Linked DNA regions of Homo sapiens: all the other regions are linked to region 1. Evidence: promoter capture Hi-C in human tissues and cell types (Jung and others, 2019). All regions are on one chromosome and are shown on one strand. Each heading gives the region's core, a stretch centred on a gene start or on the middle of the fragment in contact. The rest is flanking DNA. Distances are from core to core; before and after follow the strand shown. Region 1 holds the start of RBPMS2 (RNA binding protein, mRNA processing factor 2). Region 2 overlaps MTFMT (mitochondrial methionyl-tRNA formyltransferase). Region 3 overlaps ZNF609 (zinc finger protein 609). Region 4 holds the start of SPG21 (SPG21 abhydrolase domain containing, maspardin).

The links. Contacts are between HindIII fragments. The study calls those that stand out against the background at their distance.
Region 2: a contact is called between a fragment that was not itself captured here and the fragment with the promoter of RBPMS2 in region 1, in 2 of the 25 tissues and cell types used here (mesenchymal stem cells and thymus).
Region 3: a contact is called between a fragment that was not itself captured here and the fragment with the promoter of RBPMS2 in region 1, in 1 of the 25 tissues and cell types used here (mesenchymal stem cells).
Region 4: the fragment with the promoter of SPG21 here is called in contact with the fragment with the promoter of RBPMS2 in region 1 in 3 of the 25 tissues and cell types used here (IMR-90 fibroblasts, mesenchymal stem cells and spleen).

What each region holds. Positions count from the first base shown.
Region 1 is chr15:64,773,373-64,777,075 of GRCh38, reverse strand. RBPMS2 (RNA binding protein, mRNA processing factor 2) reads left to right here and starts at 1,487. Exons shown (of 8, transcript NM_194272.3): 1 at 1,487-1,843. The coding sequence starts at 1,757. RefSeq lists enhancers at 1-779, 780-1,626 and a silencer at 1,062-1,311. The HindIII fragment of the contact is 13,175 bases long and covers 1-3,703 here.
Region 2 is chr15:65,018,180-65,021,718 of GRCh38, reverse strand. MTFMT (mitochondrial methionyl-tRNA formyltransferase) reads left to right here. Exons shown (of 9, transcript NM_139242.4): 4 at 103-205; 5 at 1,447-1,522. Among named protein-coding and RNA genes, the nearest start is that of MTFMT, 9.7 kb to the left of the region's middle. The HindIII fragment of the contact is 9,263 bases long and covers 1-3,539 here.
Region 3 is chr15:64,606,673-64,610,320 of GRCh38, reverse strand. The region is part of intron 2 of ZNF609 (zinc finger protein 609); the gene reads right to left. The region is part of intron 3 of LOC101930091 (a long non-coding RNA gene); the gene reads left to right. Among named protein-coding and RNA genes, the nearest start is that of OAZ2, 95 kb to the left of the region's middle. The HindIII fragment of the contact is 4,700 bases long and covers 1-3,648 here.
Region 4 is chr15:64,987,996-64,991,640 of GRCh38, reverse strand. SPG21 (SPG21 abhydrolase domain containing, maspardin) reads left to right here and starts at 1,727. Exons shown (of 9, transcript NM_016630.7): 1 at 1,727-1,976. RefSeq lists enhancers at 1,294-1,353, 1,394-1,463, 1,519-2,018, 2,019-2,520 and silencers at 1,534-2,023, 2,144-2,193, 1,996-2,290. The HindIII fragment of the contact is 3,841 bases long and covers 809-3,645 here.

The DNA.
Region 1 (3,703 bases), core at 238-2,737:
ATCTCTAGGCCTCAATTTATCTGTGAGATGGCAGGTCAGGATGGAGATTATAATTTACTGGGAAGACTAAGCCACAGCACAGTGATCCTGTGGTGCTAGTCCTACCTAATTCAGGAGGTCGACACACAGAGGTTCTGGGGGCTCAGGCACTTGTCCACGGTCTGGGATCCTAACCAGTCCGTGACTGCAAATCCAGCTTTTCTTTTTTCTTTTCTTTTTTTGAGACGGAGTTTCGCTCTTGTTGCCCTGGCTGGAGTGCAATGGCAAGATCTCGGGTCACCGCAACCTCCGCCCCGTCCAGGAGAAGGGGCACTGAGGAGGGACCCAGTTCTCCCGCGGCTCTGCCGGATTCAGGCTGCAGCGCTTCCAGCGCTCCCCGAGGTGGGTGCGGGTTTCTACTGTGGCAGCAGGGCGGGCCCCCATCGGCTGGGTTTTCAAATAGAAGAGAAAACCGACCCAGAGGCCGCGCCCTACTGACCTGCGCGGGGGTGCGGGGGGAGTCACGACGACCTCCCCCACCTCCCCCAGCCTCTAGGCTATTACATCCGTCCCCAGCCTTCGGGCTCAGAATAGGAGGCAGGGAAAGGTGTGAGGGGCACTGAGGTCGGGGGAGGAGCGAGAAGACCCGAAAGCCAGGCGTGTTGAGGGCAAGGTGGGCAACAGAACCTTCTTGGTCATTCGAGGCAGCCCTCGCTAATGACCATTGGGGTCCCAACACTCGAATCCCCACCTAAGTCCTATTCAGATAGTGACTGGGAGTGGGAAGGGAGTTTGAGATCCTAAGTCCCACCCTCTGGGCTGGGAGCCTGAGGCCAGAGAGGGGAAGTGATTTCCTCAAGGTCACTCAGCAAAACAGCGCCCAGCCCGGGCCAAAGCTCAGGTGTCTCCCAACCCCCTCCCCCCGGCCATCACCCCCAGAACTCGGTCCCCCGGAGCTGAGGTCTGCGCGACTGGATTTAGGGGCAGAATGAGTGCGTCGGGAACCCCAAAACCCTAGATCAAGATACAAGGGGAGTCGACGGCCCGGAAACCTCGCTGCGGGTGCCCTAAGCGCGAGGCCGCCCGGGCAGGGCCGCCCAGGGACCGGGGCGCTGGGTGCGGGGCACGGGGCTCCACCTCCCGCGGGCTGGGGCGCGCAGCGCGCGGCCCCTTTAAGAAAGTTCGCCGGGCGAGTTCATCAAAGTTTAAAAACTCGCCGTGGAGAAGGGCGCGGGGGAAGAGGAGAGAGGGAGAGCGCTGACCCAGGCGAGAGAGAGGGGAAAGGCCCGGCCGGAGGCCGGCGCCCCGCGGCCGGGGCCGGGGCGAGCCCACGGTGGGCGGTGGGGATTGGCTGCGCGTTCCCCCGGAGACCGCGCGGCGGGCGGGGGAGGGGGCTGGCCGGGCCCCAGCTGAGGCCGGTTCCGGCCCCGCCCCCCGCCGCCGGCGCCCGCCCCCTCCCCCGGCGCCCGCCCCCCGCCGCCGCTGCCGCCGCCGCCGCCGCCGCGGCGCACTCGCCGGTCGCAGTGAAAAGGCGGAGGCGGCGGCCCCTCCGGCTCCCACTGCCTCCCCCGCCGCACCCCCTCCCCACCTTCCGCACCCGCCAAACTTGATGTGACCCTGGCCCGACGCGGAGGCTGCCCCTCTCACTGCCCCGTGGGTCCCCCGCCACCCGCTCCGCACCCGCGAGCGCACCGCTCCCCGCGCCCCTTCCCACTTCCCGCGGGGCCGGCGCCGCGCTCGCCCTCGCGTTCCTTCCCGCCGCCCCCTCCCCCGCACCATGAGCAACCTGAAGCCGGACGGCGAGCACGGCGGCAGCACCGGCACCGGCTCCGGCGCGGGCTCCGGCGGCGCCCTGGAGGAGGAGGTGGGTCTGTGGCCCCGGGACTTGCCGGGTGAAGCGCACGCCAGGCGGGCGCGGGAGAGGGCGAGCGGGGCCTGCCGCGCCTCGCGGGGCCGGGGTGGCCATCGCTCCCGGCGCCTTCCCGCCGCTGCCCTCTCGCCCGGGTAGGAGCGGCCCGTGTCCGCGGGCGGGAGCGTGCGGCCTGGACTGCCCCGCCGGACAGGCATTGTCTCCCCGCCCTCTCGGGCTCGAGGCGGGCCGCGCGCGCCGGCCGCCGTCCGGGCGTCCCGCGGTGGGCGAGATGCGCCGCGTCCGTTCCATGCCTGCCGCCCGCGCGCCCCTTGCTCCCCACCCCGTAGCCGCTCGCCGCCCTCCTCCGAGGCGCACCTCCTGCGTGGCCAGGACCCCGCCTCGGCGGCACGGAGCGGAGCGGGATTAGCACGGCCCGAGGGCGGCACCCTCACTCCACTGCCTTTTCCGCCCTGACCCCCTCCCCGTGACCTTGGAGGCCTGGGCCGGCCGGCTCCTCGGTTCCTGCGAGCTGTTGTCATGGGGGTGGGCGGGCTTTCTTCACAGCCCCAGAACCTGGGCTTTGGCAGAGGTGAGCCCACAATTTAATTAGTTTGGAAGATGACTAAAGACACTCAGTTCGTCCTTCTCCTCTCTCTGGGTTTGTCCTGGCAACCAAGCCAGGACCCCAAAGCTGGCCTGGGTGGGATCCTGCCAGGAGGGGCGAAATCATCTCGTCCACCGGCCATGTGCGAAAGGGAGGGAGTGTAAGGCGGCTCCGTGGAACCACCAGCAGCTGGGTGGTTAATGGATGGTAGGGAGGATGTGTGTGCGGGGTGGGGTGCTGGATAAAAGCCTCAAAGATATCAGTGAATAGGGACGAGGAGCTAGGCTGGCGGAGACAAGAACTGGAGTAGAAGGGGACAGGCTTCGCAGGGCCTCTGGCCTCTGCTGCGTCATTCTAGGGGTGAGAGAGCCTTCCTGCCCCTGCCCTGGCATGTTCTCGCCCAGGAAACCAAGGGCTGGTTATCCACCTTGGGCGCCCTTCCCCTTGGCCTGGGGGAGAAACCGCAGAGCCCCTGGTGTGGACTGGTGTTGCCTCCTCCCCTTGTGCTGGGGGTTGGTGCAGAATGGCGCCGGTGGCCCTCGGCTGGGCTGGGCTCAGCGCCGCCAGCTCCCACTCGGCTATTCAGAGACCTTCAGCCAGCCCCAGTCGATGACAATCTAGGTTTGGATCTCCACTTTTTGGCGGAAGGGGAAGGGAAGAATATACAACTGTGACATCTGTCCACTAATGACTTAAGTGTGGTGGATTTGTTTGGGCTCCAGAGGCCTTGCCCTCCTTGTACCTTGATGCCAAAAGGCCCTTGGCTTTGGGGATCTTGCCCCCATCCTGACTCTACCTGGCTGTTAGAATCTCCCTTGACAGTTGGGGAGGGTGACAGGGTTGCTAGCGTACTTGGAGTCTCTGCTTGGCCCCCTGCTGTGGGCTGAAACTGGGGGAGAGCATGTCTCCTATAAAGCTGAATGGGGACCCAGAACCCCACTTCTGCTAAAGGGTCTACTTCAGTGGGGACTTCACACTGCCCAAGAGGCTGGTACTGGGCAAACCCTCAGACCCACTGCTGTTGGGTGAGAAGGGTGACCCATGTGGCCATTCTAAGTCTTGAAAAAAGCATTTGAGGTTTTAGCCACTCCTTTCTAAGTACCTTTTCTGGGAAAGAGGGCAGGATTCTCAAAAAGTGGAATCCCTACTATTCCTCCTTGGGAGTTGAGATGGCCTGCGGCCCTATGGTGGTTCCAAATCCGCGCACTTGGAAAAGGGCATGGTGGGCTCGCGTTTAGCAGAGGTCCAGAACAAAGGGTTCTGAGGGT
Region 2 (3,539 bases), core at 418-2,917, 240 kb before region 1:
CATGCAGACCACTGTACCCAGCTTGTATCTTTTTGTGTGTAGACAAACATTGATTCAGGAAATGGTAATCATTGTCATTATTTGCTTTTGATTTTTTGCTAGGTTTGATGTAGGCCCAATTCTCAAACAAGAAACTGTTCCTGTGCCACCCAAGAGCACTGCAAAGGAATTGGAAGCAGTGTTGTCAAGACTGGGTGCCAACATGGTATAATTCCCCAATATCCTACTGCTTTTTACTCATTTAGTGGGTTTCCTAAGTGGTTATAAAAAGAAGAACAATTTTGTGACTTCTAATTTTCTTAAAAACAAAAAAGAGTAATTTCTATCTTTGGCTTCCTAAAAATTAGCCTGGCATTTGTGATCTCATGTAAATCTTTGAGAATTTACAAAGAGTAAGTACTGAATAAAGGCTTTCAAGTGAAACAGGTGATCTTACATGACCTACTACATGCCATAGTGAGGTCTTAGACTATTCTTCTCAATTTCACTCTCCGCACTCTGGTATGTATACCTTGCATCCCTGTCAGAATGAACTAACAGCAATTTTCTAAGCGACTCTTAGCTTTCCTTCCATTTCTTTGCCTGGCTTCAGTCATTTGCACTAGAATTCTGCTGACCATTCTACCTATAGATGATCCTTCTTTTTTCTGTGGCTTTGTATATATAATTCATTGAAACTGCATGAGTAGAGTCTGGGTAAATGTTTAATGACTAAACTTATGTTTTCCATATGAACGGGTTAATTTTATACAGAGGAATATTTTTTTCCCACCTGTAGAGATGGTATTTCCTATTCTAGGCACTTACCTCACAAATGATCTTATAATAGTGACTGCCGTTTATTGAACATTGGCTTGTGTTCTACAACTGTTCTAGATACTGTATGGACTTTTTCTTTTTACCCTCTCAACTTTGAGGTAGTTGTTGCTGTTGATTGTTTCACAGATGATGACATTGAAGGCCAGAGACAAGCTAAATAACTTTTCCACAATGAGACAGCTGGTAGGTGGTAGAACTAGGACTTGAACCCAGAGCTGGGTGACTCCATAGTACATTGTCCTGTGAGGTTTCACTGCCTTGGCCCCCATGGGGTGAGAGTGTGTATAGCCAAGCCCGGGCTATCCTGATGCCAAAGCTTCCACAGCATTCTCTAGAAGTGAATCAATGACCTGTACTCTACAGAAAGCAGAATCTCTACTGAGGTTTCCCCAAGTAGACACCTATCCTCACAGCTTAAGCCAATGTACTACCTTACCCTGCCACATAGATCTTTTAAAGTTATAGGTTCAGCCTTGAAGAGCCAATAGTAAAGATTTTTTTTTTAATTTGAAAAAAGAAAAAGAAAAAAAGTTATAGGTTATTTCATGGTGCTGAATTGTAATGTGTTTCTGCTTTTGTTCTTCCCTTCATTTTGAATATATCACACTCTTTTTTTTTTTTTTGTAGCTCATTTCAGTTTTGAAAAATTTGCCTGAAAGTCTGAGCAATGGAAGGCAGCAGCCAATGGAGGGGGCGACTTACGGTGAGTGAAGGCTGCAGAGACTCTCATCTTTCTAAAGGTTCTGCTTGTCACGATAGCATCTGAACATTCTGACTTCTTAGCTGTACTTTTCCCTTAATTTTGATTGAGTGCCCACTTTTGTGTGCTTTTCCAAAGAATGGTAGAAAGCATTCTTTCTCCCTCTTAGCATATAGCCTCATGAAGGATTGAGCATTTTTTTCCAACTTCTTGATTTTGAAAATATTAAATAGAAAGACTGGTATAATAAACACCAGTTTACCCCAGAGTCAACAATTATTAATGTTTGTCCATATTTTCTTTCTCTTTATGTATTTATTACGTGTATTTTAAATTCTGCTTATTCATTTGGAAGTATGAATCATGATCTTTCATCTCTAAGTAGTTTAGTATGCCTTTCCTAAGAAAAATGAACAATTTCCTGATAGCATCCAATGTTCAGTTCATATTTAAGTGTTCCTAATTGTCTAAAAATTTATTTTATAGTTTTATTTTTCAAACTAGGATTTAATTGTAATTAGTTGTTATGTCTCTTTAGTCTCTAAAAAAAATTCCTCTTTTTTTCCTCTCTCTATGTCATTGACTTTTTGAAGAGACCAGGCCAGTTGTTTGATTTGTTTTCTTCCAGTGTTGTTTAACTTGTTCCCTATCTCTTATATTTCCTATAATTAGTTCTAAAGGTTTGGCTGGATTCAGGCTTAAAGTTTTTGGAAAGAGTGTGTTTCAGTGACATTTGTTTTCTTCTTTTTTGTTTTTTTTAGTAGAGTTAGGAGTATAAACATTTGTTTCAGTTTGTTTTTAATTTTAGGGATTACTTTTTATTTTTCTTTATGATTAAATGTTATTTTTTGAATATGTAAAACATATAGCTGATTCAAAAGTTAATATACCTAGAGAAGTCTCACTTTTGTCCCCTACAGTCTTAAGGTACCACTTGAGTAAGCCAAGATATCAGACTGTACTAAAGCAAGTGAAGCTAAGTTTGATCACTTGGTTGAGATGGTGACCACCAGATCTTTCCAGTGTTAAGATGTGTTTTCCCTTTTGCAATTAGCAGGTAATCTGTGGGGTAATTAATACTCTGGCACTGTGCAGATATCCTGTTCCCTAACAACCTTTCACATGATGGTTTTAGTACAGATTGATATTCCTTGCCCAAATGAATTATTTCACTATGGATTACAAAATGGCAATTTTCTAATTCCTTTTACATTTAATAGCTGGTATTGTTCTGGAAAGAAGAGTTTTTCCTCATTAATTGGAGGTGAATTTTAGTTCATCCTAAAATGGGGACAGGGGCTTAATTCTTTCTCTTTAATTAGAATAAGAAGTTGATGCCATTAATTGCCTTCAATTTTGGTGTCAGATGCGTTCTTTTTAGTATCATTTGACGCGTAGATTTTCATTGATTGTGTTTTACAGTCATAATTCTTTATATTTGCCCAGTGGGAGCCCCTTAAATTTGGCTCCTACATTCTGTTAACACTCTTCACTTCCCACTAGTTTGGAGTGCTTCCTTGCTTCCACCACAGTATGTCCCAGGCTCGCCTATGTGTCCTCTGGCTCACACTGAAATCAACCAGTGTGATTTCCAGGGAGCTTTTGTTCATTTTAGTGGGGTTGATAATTAGAGATCATCTGGTACAACAATGTATGGCAAGATAAGGTATCAGTGGACTAAACTAGAAGTTATATTTTTAAAAAATATTCAAGCTCATATTGTTTATGATTCAAATTTATCATTAAAGGGTTTTCCTTATATTTTCTCACACTATCTTTTTTTAAATATTAACCTATTTATTTGCTATTCATAACATCATTTCAGCATTACAATACCAATATTACTACTAAGAGTAAAAATACTAAGTAAGATTTAAGATTTCTTTACAGTTTTCCTTTTTGATCCTTAGAATATATCCTAAGGATATACAGTCAGATTACTGCCTTCAAAACTTCCTGGTAATGATTATTTTTTCCATGTGGTTTTGTTACCTAGTTTCATACATAGTTAAGTTTCAGT
Region 3 (3,648 bases), core at 579-3,078, 170 kb after region 1:
ACTCTGTTTGAGTAGGCCCATGTCTGTTTGTTCCCCTCTAAGTGTCCATGTGTTCTCATCATTTAGCTCTCACTAATAAGTGAGAACAAGTGGTATTTGGTTTTCTGTTTCTGCGTTGGTTTGCTCAATTTTTAATTTTTAAATTTGTAAAGATGGGGGTCTCCCTATGTTGCCTAAGCTGCTCTCGAACTCCTGGGCTCAAGAGATCCTTGTGCCTTGGCCTCCCAAAGTGCTAGGATTACAGGTGTGACACTTCACCTTGCAGGAAATTCTTAAAAACTGAGAACCTTATTATTATTATTATTTTTTGAGATAGCATCTCATGCTGTCACCCAGGCTGGAGTGCAGTGGCTTGATCTCTGACTCCTGGGTTCAAGCAATTCTCATGCCTCAGCCTCCCGAGCAGCTGGGACTACAGGTGCATGCCACCACACTGGACTAATTTTTGCATTTTTAGTAGAGACGAGGTTTTACCGTGTTAGCCAGGCTGGTCTTGAACTCCTAACCTCAAGTGATCCACCCGCCTTGGCCTCCCAAAGTGCTGGGATTACAGGTGTGAGCCACCACACCCGGCCTTATTTTTTTCATATACTTAACATATTTTCCCCCTCTTATACCTAGTCCCATAAAAAAAAAAAATGAGAACCTTAAAGAGCCTTGGTTTAGGTAGGCTATATCCCTTGATATTTAACATATTAGAAATTAAAATGAGGCCATGCACCGTGGCTCACGCCTGTAATCCCAGCACTTTGGGAGCCCAAGGCGGGTGGATCACCTGAGGTCAGGAGTTCAAGACCAGCCTGGACAACATGATGAAACCCCGTCTCTATAAAAAAATACGGCCGGGCGCGGTGGCTCATGCCTGTAATCCCAGCACTTTGAGAGGCCGAGGAGGGTGGATCATGAGGTCAGGAGATCAAGACCATCCTGGCTAACAAGGTGAAACCCCATCTCTACTAAAAAACAAACAAACAAACAAACAAAAACAAAAATTAGCCTCTTAGATATTCGAGAGGCTGAGGCATGACAATTGCTTGAACCCAGGAAGCAGAGGTTGCAGTGAGCCGAGACTGCACCACTGCACTCCAGCCTGGGCGACAGAGTGATAAGAAAGAAAGTAAAAGAAAGGACAAGAAAGACAGACAGACAGAAAGAAAGAAAGAGAGAGAGAGAAAAAAAAGAAAGAAAAAAAGAAAGAAAGAAAGAAAGAAAGAAAGAAAGAAAGAAAGAAAGAAAGAAAGAAAGAAAGAAAGAAAAATTAAAACTAAAACATGCAAGTAACAGGGCTGGGTGTGGTAACTCACGCCTATCATCTCAGCACTTTGGGAGCCTGAGGTGGGTAGAATGCTTTAGCCCAGGATTTCCAGATCTGCAGGGGCAACATAGGAAGACCCCATCTTTAAAAATAAAAAAAATTAGCTGGGCATGGTTGCACATGCCTGTTGTCCCAGCTACTTAGGAGGCTGAGGTGGGAGGATCGCTTGGGCCCAGGAGGTTGAGGCTGCAGTAAGCCATGATCATGCCACTGCATTCCAGCTTGGGGGACAAAGTGAGATGCTGTATCAAAAAAATACACACACACACACACACACACACGCATGCATGCATACACACATATAACAATTTTGAAATAAAATTAGAGACAAAGAGAACAGATTGGCAGCTGCCAGGGATTAGGGGTGGGCAGGGGAAGGTGGAAGAAAGGTAAATGTAGTTGTAAATAGTCAACACAAGAGATCTTTTTGGTGATGTGGTGATGTAACTGTTCTGTATCTTGACTGGGTGGTGGATACATGAACTTATACATGGGACAAAACTGTATGGAACTACACACACCCAGAAAAACACACAAATGAGTACGAGTAAATGGGGGAAATCTGAACACAATAGGTGAATGCATCAATATTACCATCCCAGTTGCAATATTGTGCTAGAGTTCTGCAAGATATTATCATTGGGGAAACCTAGGAAAAGGGTACATGGTACATGAGAGTACTGTATTACAAATACAATTATATTAAAACAAAAAGATTTTAAAAAAGTTAAGAACCCCAAAGAACTTTTATTTATGTGGGATAAATTGACTGATGTTTACCAGACTAGAATTAAAATAAGAAATAATTTGGCTGGGCATGGTGGCTCAGGCTTGTAATCCTAGCACTTTGGGAGGCCAAGGCGGGCGGATTGCCTGAGGTCAGGAGTTCGAGACTAGCCTGACCAACATGGTGAACCCATCTCTTCTAAAAATACAAAAATTAGCCGGGCATGTTGGCGCATGCCTGTAATCCCAGCTACTCAGGAAGCTGAGGCAGGAGAATTGCTTGAATCCAGGAGGAGGGGGTTGCAGTGAGCCGAGATCCTGCCACCCTACTCTAGCCCGGGCAACAGAGTGAGACTCTGTCTCAAAAAAAAAAAAAAAAAAAAAGAAAGAAAAGAAAGAAGAAAGAAAGAAAGAAAGAAAGAAAGAAAGAAAGAAAGAAAGAAAGAAAGAAAGAAAGAAAGAAGAAAACATTTAAGGCCAGGTGCAGTAGATGACGCCTGTAATCCCAGCACTTTGGGGGGCCAAGGAGGGTGGATCACCTAAGTTCAGGAGTTCAAGACCAGCCTGGCCAACATGGTGAGACCCCGTCAGTACTAAAAATACAAAAATTAGCCAGGTGTGGTGGCAGATGCCTGTAATTCCAGCTACTCGGGAGGCTGAAGCAACAGAATCACTTGAACCTGGGAGGCGGAGGTTGCAGTGAGCCAAGATCGCGCCACTGCACCCCAGCCTGGGCAACACAGTGAGATTCTGTCTCCAAAAAAAAAAAAAAAAAAAGTATGCCTTAAGTTAGTTAAAATAACATTAAAAAACCTGTTAAATATTAACATATTATTTTCAATGTCTGGTTTAATAGAAGACAGCTGGATTCTCCATTCAATCTGTTGGTGAAATGTTTTGGTTCAAGTATACAAAGAAAATCAGCCTTACATAGAATATATATGGTACAGATATATGTATATGTGTGTGTTGTTTTACAGATAATGTATATAATGTTTGTATTTAATAGCCTTTTCAGATAACTGTGGATATTATTCCTTGATATGACACCAATAAATTCAGTAAATGATAGTTCTATTATTTATTTATTTTTTTTACTTTATTTATTTATTTTTTACTTTATTTATTTATTTTTTTTATGGAGTGTCACTCTTATTGCCCAGGCTGAAGTGCAGTGGCGCGATCTCAGCTTACTGCAACCTCCGCCTCCCGAGTTCAAGCGATTCTCCTGCCTCAGCCTCCCGAGTAGCTGGGATTACAGGCATGTGCCACCACGCCTGGCTAATTTTGTATTTCTAATAGAGACGGGGTTTCTCCATGTTGATCAGGCTGGTCTCAAACTCCCAACCTCAGGGTGATCCGCCAGCCTCGGCCTCCCAAAGTGCTGGGATTACAGGCATGAGCCACCACGCCCAGCCCATGCCTGGCTAATTTTTGTATTTGGAGACAGGGTTTCACCATGTTGGCCAGACTGATCTCGAACTCCTGACCTCAGGTGATCCTCCTGCCTCGGCCTCCCAAAGTGCTGGTATTACTGATGTAACCGTTTTAAACTATAAATGCTGATCTTGGCAGAAGTGGTAGCTCATGCCTATAATCCCAGCTCT
Region 4 (3,645 bases), core at 478-2,977, 210 kb before region 1:
TATGTAACAAAACATATCTACATAGTGATTTTTTTTTATTGTCAATTGTCAAAGTTTACTACCACACTAACAGAACAATGACTTTTAACATACGGGTATATCCATAGATTAGGTCTCATTAAAGCTGTTACTAAATGGGGTCTAGGGATGGGGTCTAAGGAATACAGCTTTAGGAACAAATGTGGAAATGGGGATAGATTTATTTATTCCACTCATTAATTCATTCAATATAGTTTTTTGTTGGGAGCAGACAAGGTCTCTCGCTTTGTCACCTAGGATGTGGTGCAGTGGATTCGACATCTGGGCTTAACAGATTCTCCCATCTCAGCCTCCTGAGTAGCGGGGATTACAGGCATGCGCCACCACGCCCGGCTAATTTTTGTATTTTTTTGTACAGACAGGGTCTCCCAGGTTGCCCAGGCTAGTCTCGAACTCCTGGGCTCAATCAAGCGATCCGTCCACCTTGGCCTCCCAAAGTGCTGGGATTACAATCAATATACATTTAGTACCTATTATTTATGGGCTAATCATGTGCTAATGGACTGGTGGAATCACTCTATTCCCTTTGCTCTAGATTGAAGCTTCGAGACCACCTGGGAAAATAGACAACTAATGTAATGAATATCCATAACCAGTTTCAGAGACAACCAGTAGTTTGCAAGTTATTCCACCCATTAAACGATTCCAAATGTTGGAGAAAAGGCCCCCAACTTAAAATACTCCACGGAAACGTGCTCTATACATCTATGTGGTGCTTACAATAAAAGATGAATTCCTGCGACTGAGTTGCAACCCCGAAAGAAATGATTTAGAGAAAAAAAGAAAGAAAGAAAAAGGTAAGTATGTCACCGTGCTTTTGGAAAATGCTTTTGGGATTTGTCCAAGTTCTAGAGTGGAACCCAAGGCTCCTGGGCCAGGGGACAGAAGTGATAACTAAGTAGGATGCAATTTAGTTGGAATCTTCCCTGACCTTAATCCCATAAACAGTTGCCTAGGTAAAGGCAAAGTCTACAGGCCCTAAAACAGGGTACAAGCTTTCCCTAAAACATATTAGAGAGAGGCACTTTCAACAGGACCTTGTTGCAGGATCCCTAAAAAAAAAATTCAAAACAAGGAGATTTACATGTTATTCACCTTATCATAATTTCAGAAATATTTTACTAATAAAAAAGGAGTCGTGAAGTCTGGAACACCTTAAGACGTGACGTCTGCAACACCTTAAGAACAATGATTACAAATGTATTAATATTCTCTCTGATTTTAAGGGAAAAGTGATGAAGGAACAGGAAGATGGGTGGGCGTATGTTCCCAGAAATCCCCAGAACGTCAAAAAGGAAGCGGAGGCTTTGAGTGGAGGACTACGGAGAGCGTCTACGGTTGTGCCAAAGGAAAAAAAATGTTCCTAAGAAAAGAGTATACAAAGTTGTGTTCATCAAAGTCTGGAACCCAAAGGTGTCCCTCCAAAGCTGTACACGACAGAGAAAACGCGAACTGAAAGAAGAAGCAGGTCCCAAGGGGCCAGGCGCCTCCTCCACCTCCTCCTCCTCCTAGGTACGTAGGGCAGAACTAAGGCTGACCCAGACGTAACTCAGCCCTCTCCTCACGCCAGCCGCAGCCAAGCATCCCACGGAGCCTCCCCCCGCGCCCGTCGCCGTGGCGACCGCCGGGGCCACGCAGCACCGCCCCTTCCTCGCGACGTGGCCCCGCCCTCTGAGAACCCGGAAGCGGGAGTCTCGCGCCAGCTGAGCGGCGGTCGGGCGGGGGGAGCGCGGCGGCCCAAGCTCGCTCGGCCACGCGCCCCGCCCCCTCAGAGGCCGGCCTCCCGCACGCACCGCGCAGCCTGCTGTGCCCGTGGGTCCCGAGTGCTCCGCCGCCCGCCCCGACCCGGGCCCAGCCGCCTCCACGGCCCGCGCTCGTACTGGAGCGAAGAGCGGCCTCCTGAAGGAGGGGAAGGGACGTGGGGGCGGCCACGGCAGGTGAGGGTGGGCGAAGCCCTGGGAAGCGGCTGGGTGTGCGGTATGCGGGGTTGTAGGTGTGTGTGTGTGGCGCGTGGCTGCCTTGGTTGGTGTGACTTTGTGAGTGTGTTCTGAGTGGGCCGGTCCATGTGACCACGCACGTGATCACGTGCCCTTGTGAGTGTGTGTCTGGGGCCGAATCTGGGCTGTGGGGTGGTCGGTGTGCTTGTGACCCTGCCTTTGTGTGGCTGTCACCGGTGGGACTGGCGGGGAGCTGTGTGTGAGTCTCCAGCGGGAGGTGGGGGCGGCACAGGGCTTAACCGGGGCATCCTCCTGTAAACCCATCCTGGGGCTACACGACTGCAGCCCAGGAACATTTCTTTCTTTCTTTCTTTCTTTTTTTTTTTCTCAGCAAACTTTTAAGAACTGTGAGCAGAGGCCAGTAATTTTGGAGACAGGACCTCGGCCTGAAAGTGATAGATGTCTTTGTTGTTACTGAGTGTGGGCCAGGTGTAAGGTTTGTAAACGGGGGATGAGGAACAGAGCGGGACCGGAGTGTCTCATTTTTCCTCTTCTCGTTTTCCTGGGGAGTTATAAGTTAGACATTTATGCTGCTTCCTTTGTCTCCACCTACACTGGTTCAGCTCCTTTTGGCACAAAGATTCAACAAATTAAGGAGTAACTTTTTTTTTTTTTTTTTTTTTGAGACGGAGTCTCGCTCCGTCGCCCAGGCTGGAGTGCAGTGGCGCCATCCCAGCTCACTGCAAGCTCTGTCTGCTGGGTTTACGCCATTCTCCTGCCTCAGCCTCCCGAGTAGCTGGCACTACAGGCTCCCGCCACCACGCCCGGCTAATTTTTTGTATTTTTAGTAGAGACGGGGTTTCACCGTGTTAGCCAGGATGGCCTCGATCTCCTGACCTCGTGATCCGCCCGCCTCGGCCTCCCAAAGGGCTGAGATTACAGGCGTGAGCCATCGCGGCTGGCCACTGAGGAGTAACTTAATAGCTGTGTCCAAATTCCAAAAGCTTTTTTCCCAAGAGCATGAGAAGAGATGTCACAGATGTCAGGTAGGCACCTTTTCCTCCTGTAAGGTTTAGAGATAATGCAATGAAGAAAAGAGGGATAGATCTCCCCTGAAGAGATCTAAGAAAAGGATAGCTGTGTACTTCTGTGGTGAGGGATGGAGACGTGCATTAAAAAGCCAGTTGCATCTCCCAGAGACTCTCAGCTTCTAATATTTTGTTATGGCTAGTATTTATAAGCACAGATTTTCCACAATGCACATCAACTATAGATTGAAATAAAGTAGCAGAAACCTCTGACTAATTATGCTGGTTATGTGACTTAAACATTGATAAAGGTGATTTTGTTGACTTTAAAGTGGCAGGTTCTGTTGAAGCCATGAGGGATAGGGGCATAGTCACAACTGGCAGGTTTTTTTGTTTGTTTGTTTGTTTGTTTTTTGAGACAGAGTCTCACTCTGTCGCCCAGGCTGGAGTGCAGTGGTGTGATCTCAGCTCACTGCAACCTCCGCCACCCAGGTTCAAGCAATTCTCCTGCCTCAGCCTCCTAAGTAGCTGGGATTACAGGAGCCCATCACCGCGCCCAGCTAATTTGTTTTTGTTGTTGTTGCTGTTTTGTTTGTTTTTTTGAGATGGAGTTTCGCTCTCGTTGCCCAGGCTGGAGTGCA